Regions from separate parts of the Homo sapiens genome. Here region 2 is linked to region 1. The links are contacts of gene promoters, found by promoter capture Hi-C in human tissues and cell types (Jung and others, 2019). All regions are on one chromosome and are shown on one strand. Each heading gives the region's core, a stretch centred on a gene start or on the middle of the fragment in contact. The rest is flanking DNA. Distances are from core to core; before and after follow the strand shown. Region 1 holds the start of NCAM1 (neural cell adhesion molecule 1). Region 2 overlaps NCAM1 (neural cell adhesion molecule 1).

The links. Contacts are between HindIII fragments. The study calls those that stand out against the background at their distance.
Region 2: a fragment that was not itself captured here is called in contact with the fragment with the promoter of NCAM1 in region 1 in 2 of the 25 tissues and cell types used here (hippocampus and liver).

The regions. Positions count from the first base shown.
Region 1 is chr11:112,958,834-112,962,758 of GRCh38, reverse strand. It overlaps NCAM1 (neural cell adhesion molecule 1), which reads right to left and starts at 1,339. Exons shown (of 20, transcript NM_181351.5): 1 at 1,095-1,339. The coding sequence starts at 1,146. It overlaps NCAM1-AS2 (NCAM1 antisense RNA 2), which reads left to right. Exons shown (of 3, transcript NR_120563.1): 2 at 1,283-1,392; 3 at 1,908-3,480. RefSeq lists an enhancer at 619-1,396. The HindIII fragment of the contact is 9,849 bases long and covers 1-3,925 here.
Region 2 is chr11:113,007,982-113,011,955 of GRCh38, reverse strand. The region is part of intron 1 of NCAM1 (neural cell adhesion molecule 1); the gene reads right to left. Among named protein-coding and RNA genes, the nearest start is that of NCAM1-AS2, 47 kb to the right of the region's middle. The HindIII fragment of the contact is 7,126 bases long and covers 1-3,974 here.

The sequences.
Region 1 (3,925 bases), core at 90-2,589:
ACAGCTGGAGGGGAGGGTGGGCACGCACAGAAGAATTTTCCAGGGAGGCCGGGATGGAAATAGCCAAAATGAAATGCACCTCCCTGCACACTGCCGAGGTTCTCTGGGCGGCGGCGCAACCCCCGCCACCCGCGGCAGCATCACTACTGTCTTCCTCCCAGCTCCCTATTGTTCACACTTTGCCAGGATCGGGAACCTCGCCCAAAGAAAGGAGACAGGGCGAGGTGTTTCGGGCGGCTACCTGCCATTCTTCTCCCGCCCCGTGCAACACTGGGCACGCGGCGCGTGTAAAGACACACGCGCGCACACGCGCGCGCACACACCAGGCAGCCCCAATCACGCCCTCCTCGCCCTCCGCCCCTCCGCACTTCCTCCTGTCAAAACGCGGCGCTCGACCCTCCCATCCTTCAGTGCTCGCGGCCGAGGGTAGGCTTTGCAACTAACCAGCAATTTGGCAAATGAAAAACTAACGTCATGTCGACTGGGGTGCAACAACGGTCACACCAACAACAACGGCCGTGCGATTCTGCCCATTTTGCCCCATTTTGCAAACCGTTATTCTTCTGGGGCGGGGGAAGCAAAGCAGCGATCCTGACTTTATTAGACCCAGGAATATAACGATCTGGGGCGGCTGCCCTAGCCTTATTGTTCACTCTTCCCGGAGCCGGGGCTGACAAGCCACTTCCCCCTCGGAATCCGAGCCCGTGCGGCGGCACCACCCGAGCCGCGACCTCCCCCGCCCCGCCGCCCGCCTTTGGGGAAGGAGCGCTGCCCATCACCAGCGCGGCCGCTGAGTCCCCAGGAGCCGGCCGGCTCTGCTCCCACCGCCGCGGGCGCACAAAGTGGGAAGGGCGGACGCGCCGGAGGGGCGCCGGGCGCTGGCGGCTCGGGGAGGCAGCCCCGTGCAGCGCAGCCCTGGAGGGAGCGGGGTTCGGCTGGGCAGCAAGGGCGACGCGCTCCTTTCACAGCTAAACGAAAATGACCAGCCTTAGCAGTCCACGTAAAACCACCCAAAATAATAGCGTTCCTCCTAGGAGTAGGAGGAAGGGGTAATTAGCAAACCAGATTGAGAATTAAAAAAAAAAAAAATGTACCTGCAGTTCCCAGGAAAAACAAAGTCCAGATGAGATCCTTAGTTTGCAGCATTGTAATCTGCTGGCTGGGAGGGATGTTCTTGCCGCGGTAAATTCTGTGCCCCCCCCCCTGCAGCGAGTGTGGACGGCGGCTGAGCGACAGACCTAGGGGCAGACAATTGCCAGGCTGAGTATGATTATTTTTGCAGAATTGTTTCCTGCCAGCGGCAGCCGAGCTGCGTTCACGCGCTGATCGGAGAATGAGTGACAGTCCCAGCCTCAGCACACTCGCAACTCGGAGATCCTTGCGCTGGCCCGGGTTCGTTTTGATGGAACTGGGATGGGAGCGAGGAGCGGGGGGCGGGGGTGAGAACCTCACTGTGTCCTTCCACCACGCCGGCCACAAATAGTGCCGAACATCAAGGAGGTAAGAGAGACAGGGGAGGCAGATGCGGAAGCCTGCAAAACGCGGCCTGGAGCTTTTGGGGGAGCCGGGCTCTTTCACACGCAGTCTCCCTGGGAGAGCTGGGATTTCTTTTCACACTTCTACCCTACGCCTTCGCAGGCGCTCCTGCTACCCAGCCTTCCTTAATCAGCAGTTTGCATATTTTGATAACTAGTAAATAATAAAAGCAAAATTTTAGATTTGGTTAGGTAAAGTTGTCAAATCCCTCCATTTCGATTCTAAGATCCTTGCAACACAAGGATAGCCCAGGACTTTAAGTGCGGGAAATTAGAACTTTGGAGAGGGATGGGGGTTGCCGTTGCTGGGTGTTGTTTGGATATTGTTTGTTTGTTTGTTTTATCCTAACTGTGAAGTTTGCTCTCCCACAGAGAGACATACAACACCCTTCAGCAGATCCCCTGGGAAGGAGGTGGGAAGAGACTTAAGTTAGAAGAAAACTCCGATGTTTGGAAGAGATTTCCAGAAATAACCCGAAGAAAATGTTTTCCTGTTTATAAATTCTGAAATCTGTGGTCTCTTTATTAAAATAGCCAGGCTTTTATATAGGTATTATGATATAGAAGCGTCATTAAATAATATTTTCTTACATGGGGACGTGACCTTAATTCTTAAAGATATTAATGTATAATATTACTGAGGTACCAACACAATAGGCTTTAATTAAAATTCCACCCGTGTTTTCAAAAGTAGGGGGTGGAGAAAGCGGGGTGAAAAGAATCATGTCTCAGCACCTGAAGGCTTGGGTATGTAAGGAACTAATGTGAGAAAGGTGTTCTAGATGTCAGGTTAACCCATTAGCCTAGAACACTGAAACCCTCTAACAGAGGAAGTCTGCATAAGTTCAAAGGCATTAAAGCACTAATGTTACCGGGTACTCCGTTTTTCTTCAAAGGTCGGCCTCCCCACTCCTGTAGCAGGTTTTTTGTTTTGTTTTGTTTTGTTTTGTTTCTGTTTTGTTTTTTTGAGATGGAGCCTCGCTCTGTCGCCCAGGCTGCAGTGCAGTGGCGCCATCTCTGCTCACTGCAACCTCTGCTCCCGGTTCAAGCGATTCTGCTGCCTCAGCCTCCTGAGTAGCTGGGATTACAGGCGCGCGCCACCACGCCCAGCTAATTTTTGTATTTTTAGTAGAGACGGTGTTTCACCATGTTGGTCAGGCCGGTCTCGAACTCCTGACCTCGTGATCTGCCCACCTCAGCCTCCCAAAGTGCTAGGATTACAGCCGTGAGCTACCGCACCCAGCCGCTGTAGCAGTTTTTAAAAGTCCATCCTCTACTGTCAGGACATCCATCCTTATTGGACAGGCCCCATCTCTTCCCCACTTTCCTCCTCTATAATAGACCAAGTGGGCCACACCAGTACAGTGTAATTAGCTTGGACCCCTGAAAAGTATTTCTTCCCCCAAGTAAATCTTCCACAACGTTTACTTTGGGCTATTTCTCTCATTCCAAGTATAAACAATTCAAAAGTACAGAAAAGTAGAAAGAACTAAAAATAACCCCAAATCCCACAGATTCCAGAGATACTCATAGATTTTGTCTTCTGTATGTGCATATGATTTTTATAATTGACATATTATAGTAGCAATTTGAATCCTGCTGATTTTGCCTAACATCAGTATAAGCATTTATTCCTCTGGATCATTAAAAAGCTTTTCTAGATATTTTTATAGCTATGTAATATTTCTTCATATGGATGATTTTGCAATGGTTTCCCCATTTTTGCATATTTATATTGTTTGTGGAGTTTGATAATATAAATAAGGCTTTTTTGAACATCTTTCAACAAATATTTGCGGAGCAACCACTGGGTTTAGCCCTGTGCTAGATGCAGTGAATTATATACGTCTTTTTTTAATGGTTGCTGTATTTAAGTGTCTTTGATTTCAGACTTCTGCTTCTAACATCTAAAATCACCACATTAAATATTACAGATTTATGTAAATGAATGTTATCAGACTCTTTCCTTAAAAAAGAGGTTTTGATGGTGAGGAAAGATAGAGAGAACAGGCAGGGGGTAGAGTGGGGAGAGTGAAGGTTGGGGCCCCCAAAATAAAAATTTTTCCAATTTTGCCCCTAAGAGTGAGAGACACATTCTTCCCTGCAAACCTCCCTCCTTATAGTCCTGTCAGTAGAATTAAAAGACTCCTCACTATTTTTCTCCCCAAATGTCCCTATTTTTAGCTTTTCAATGTAGGCAAGTGTGGAAATCCAATCTCACTTGAGTATGACTGAATTTCTTTTTTTTCCCTCTCTCTCTCCAGCCCCTCCCTACCCCGTGTGGTTGTTGATCTCTGTTGTAATGATTCATTCTAGAATGCTGCCCCAGTCATTCCAGTCCACACTCCCAGTATCACTCCCAAATTCTTTTAACAGGATATGTCACTTGT
Region 2 (3,974 bases), core at 448-2,947, 49 kb before region 1:
GGAGAGGAGAGAAGGAGAGAAGGAAAGAAGGAAAGAAAAGAAATTTTTTTTTCCAAACCAGTCTCCAATCCAGAATCACACTTTGCATTTAGTTGTCATGCTGCCTTAGTCTCCTTCCATCTGAATCAATTCTTCAGCCTTTCCTTGTCCTTCAAGACATTGACAGTGTTGATGAGCATAAGCCCCTTGTTTGGCAGAGCAAAGCAGACTGCTTAACGATCCCCTCCAAACACAGTCATTTCCTTTTATGGTTGCTTATGCTACACAAGGTACCACTGCTACCATCTCTCTATTTTTCTACCCTTCTCCTCACCTGCTTAAAAATCCTACCCCAATGCTGGAGAGGATGTGGAGAAATAGGAACGCTTTTACACTGTTGGTGGGACTGTAAACTAGTTCAACCATTGTGGAAGTCAGTGTGGCGATTCCTCAGGGATCTAGAACTAGAAATACCATTTGACCCAGCCACCCCATTACTGGGTATATACCCAAAGGACTATAAATCATGCTGCTATAAAGACACATGCACACGTATGTTTATTGCGGCATTATTCACAATAGTGAAGACTTGGAACCAACCCAAATGTCCAACAATGATAGACTGGATTAAGAAAATGTGGCACATATACACCATGGAATACTATGCAGCCATAAAAAATGATGAGTTCATGTCCTTTGTAGGGACATGGATGAAATTGGAAATCATCATTCTCAGTAAACTATCGCAAGAACAAAAAACCAAACACCGCATATTCTCACTCATTGGTGGGAATTGAACAATGAGATCACATGGACACAGGAAGGGGAATATCACACTCTGGGGACTGTGGTGGGGTGGGGGGAGGGGGGAGGGATAGCACTGGGAGATATACCTAATGCTAGATGACGAGTTAGTGGGTGCAGCGCACCAGCATGGCACATGTATACATATGTAACTAACCTGCACAATGTGCACATGTACCCTAAAACTTAAAGTATAGTTAAAAAAAAAATCCTACCCCAAGTAAAGGCCCTCAAAAAGGCCTCCCCCAATGATGAATCCTTCAGTGACTCCTGATCTTATGACTCCTCCGCTTCTTGAATTCTACAATAGCTACTGTCTTAAGTGTTCATTTGACACATAATGATAACCTGACTTTATTGTCATGTAACTTTTCATGTGTGTGGGTCATATCTTACCAAAGTCCCCCTGACAGGCAGTACTATACACTCAATATGTATTACTTGAAATTAATTAAATTAATATTTTGAGTAATTAAATACTTGGTACTCTCGCCAACTGACTTTTCCTGTTGAGTATAGCATAAAAGAAAAATAGAGAGCAGGTCTTTCAATCTCAAAAAAGTCAGTAATTATCAATCAGTAATTATTTCTATAAGAACAATTATTCTTTCAGGGATACAGCTGATGTTTGCTCATTAGCTGAAGGCACTCTGGAGAATAGAATATGACTCATAAATAACAGGTGAGGTGGTTTTATTATCAGCTATTGTATTGAAAAGCTATAGGATCCTGTTATTCATCAGAATAAGGAAAATGAAGCAATTAAAATCAAGCCTCACTAATTCACATTCATATTATTAAAAGCCCATCTGACTAAAATAGAGAAGTCTGATTTATAGAATATTTCTGAGGAAATACATTTTAATTCTTTCAAGTATAGAGTTATTTTTTAAAACCAAATCATAATGAATTGCTAAAGGTGAGATCCTACTTTAATAAATATATAAAAAGGGTCTGCAATTAGCATATCATAGCCAAAGACATGAATCAACTAGAAAGCTAATTTAGTTCAGGATCGAATGTGAGAATGCCTGACATCCTAGTTTTACTGCAGTTTCCTACTTTCAGAAAATATGAAATTGGTTCATTAGGTGGTTTTGCTTTTCCTTTTTAAACTGAATTAACTGTTCTTTTTTTTTTTTCAAGATGCAGCTCAATTTCCTAAGTCAAAGAAAGTTTCAGTACTTCTTAGCCTGTACACTGGTCTCTGCTTACACTGGGAATTGTAGACAGTGGATAAATACAAGCTTCCATGTGCCTGAAGATCTTGGTCTCTTATGCATCTGTTGACTTTATTCCCTTCCAGTAGGCCCCCTTTTCACAGACACAAAAACATAAGCATTGCTCTAGTCCCTTCTGCATTGTCATGAATAACAGGGTCTTCCAAACCCATATTACTCCCTTTATCTTCTACAATCCCAAAACATCTGTAAGACCCTGATCTCATTTTTTCAAACTCAAAATGTGGAGACATGGTCTTGGAAAAGTTTTCTGACCTGTGAGTGGAGTTTAGAGATGAGTCCTAGAGAGGAACAACATTAAATCACATTCGGTTGCATGGAGACTCCTATCCTCACTGGATGGCTAGATGTGCTCACTCTCACATACAGAGACTGTTTAAAACCTTCCAATTACCAACCTGGGCAACAGGGTGAGAACCCAGCTCTACAAAAAATACAAAAAATTCCCCAGGCGTGGTGGGCACCTGTAGTCCCAGCTACTCGGGTGACTGAGGTGGGAGGATCACCTGAGGCCAGGACGTTGAGGCTGCAGTGAGCCATGATCACACCATCACACTCCAGCCTAGGTGACAGAGTGAGACCATCTCAATAAAAAAAAAAAAAAAAAAAAAAAAAAAAACCCGAAAAAACCCTTCCAATTAAATCAGCCCAATGGAGACTTCCTGCCACCACAGATTTCAAGGTCTAGTCTGACTAAGCAGGTAAATTGTTTGCCAATTTTTTGATAATTCTACCGACGTGGTCCTACATGAGTCTGTCCTATTTGAAAAAGAAAAAAACGAATTGAGATGACTGTGTGCCAAACATAATGTCTATGAGTTTCCGTCAGAAACTGAGTTCAAGGCTCAGTTTCTCAGGCTAACTAACATTCTCCATGAATAGCAAAATACTTAGACCAGGTTATTGCACTCTCCCGCTGTGACACCCCTGAGGCCCCCATGGGAGATCGGTCAGAAAAACACAGGACAGTTTGCAGCTTGTGTTGACCTTTCCTTGGTCTTCCATTCTGTGCACTTGACTCAGCTCTATTCAGGCTCAGTGGGCCATACTGAGCCCAGATACTGCTGATGTTGTGTCTATCACCAAATGCCAGAGTTTAAGGAAGAGCAGTAAGAATGATCTCCAGGGGATCAGAAAACATTTCAGTGTGTAAAACAAAGAGATGTTTGGTTCCCTTTCTTTCTGACTTTTAACTTACTGATTTAAAATCACTACAGAAATCGAGAGATGAGTAACCTCCAGATGATATGATTTTAGTTTCACTAGTTTGACAGACAATTGGTGACTCGATGGAACTATTTAGTATCAAGAAGAATGGCTTCAGTTTGAAATCAAAACCATAATTTTGAGAAGCAGTCCTCCAATATTAACTGGCTTAAAACCAACAATTCATTTAGGGGGATAATTTGCAACTAATATATGGGGAGAGTTTTGCAGGAAATAAAATTAGACATGTGGACCACTAAAATATTTCCACGGCTGAAATGAGTCATTGTTAATCCTGCTCTGAAACTGTCTTGGCTACATTCATTATAGCCATGTATTACCACTTTGCTTTTCTTGAGGTGTGCTCTGGAGAGATCTCCTCAGCTTGCAAGGAAGAAAGCCATAGAAATGGCCATGTGACCCCTGCCCCCCTATCTGTGATTATTCTGAAAGCCAGTATTGGAGTATCATAATGTAAACAGTCCAACTTTGAGGCTAAATTCTCTGATCCTCTATCAAAAAGTGTCATAACTTATATTCATAATCCATGAGATGAGGCCATACTGGAATAAGACTATGAAGAAGAGGGACTTTCAGCAACTCTTAGTTACCATAATTAATGAACTCTAAGTCTCCATGTGTTGTAAGATGCACCATTATTTTATGGACTAAGAAAGAAATAAAAGCTGTCAATTAAATTGACACGGTGCCTTATTACTTCAAATTTTTTTATTTTCCACCTAT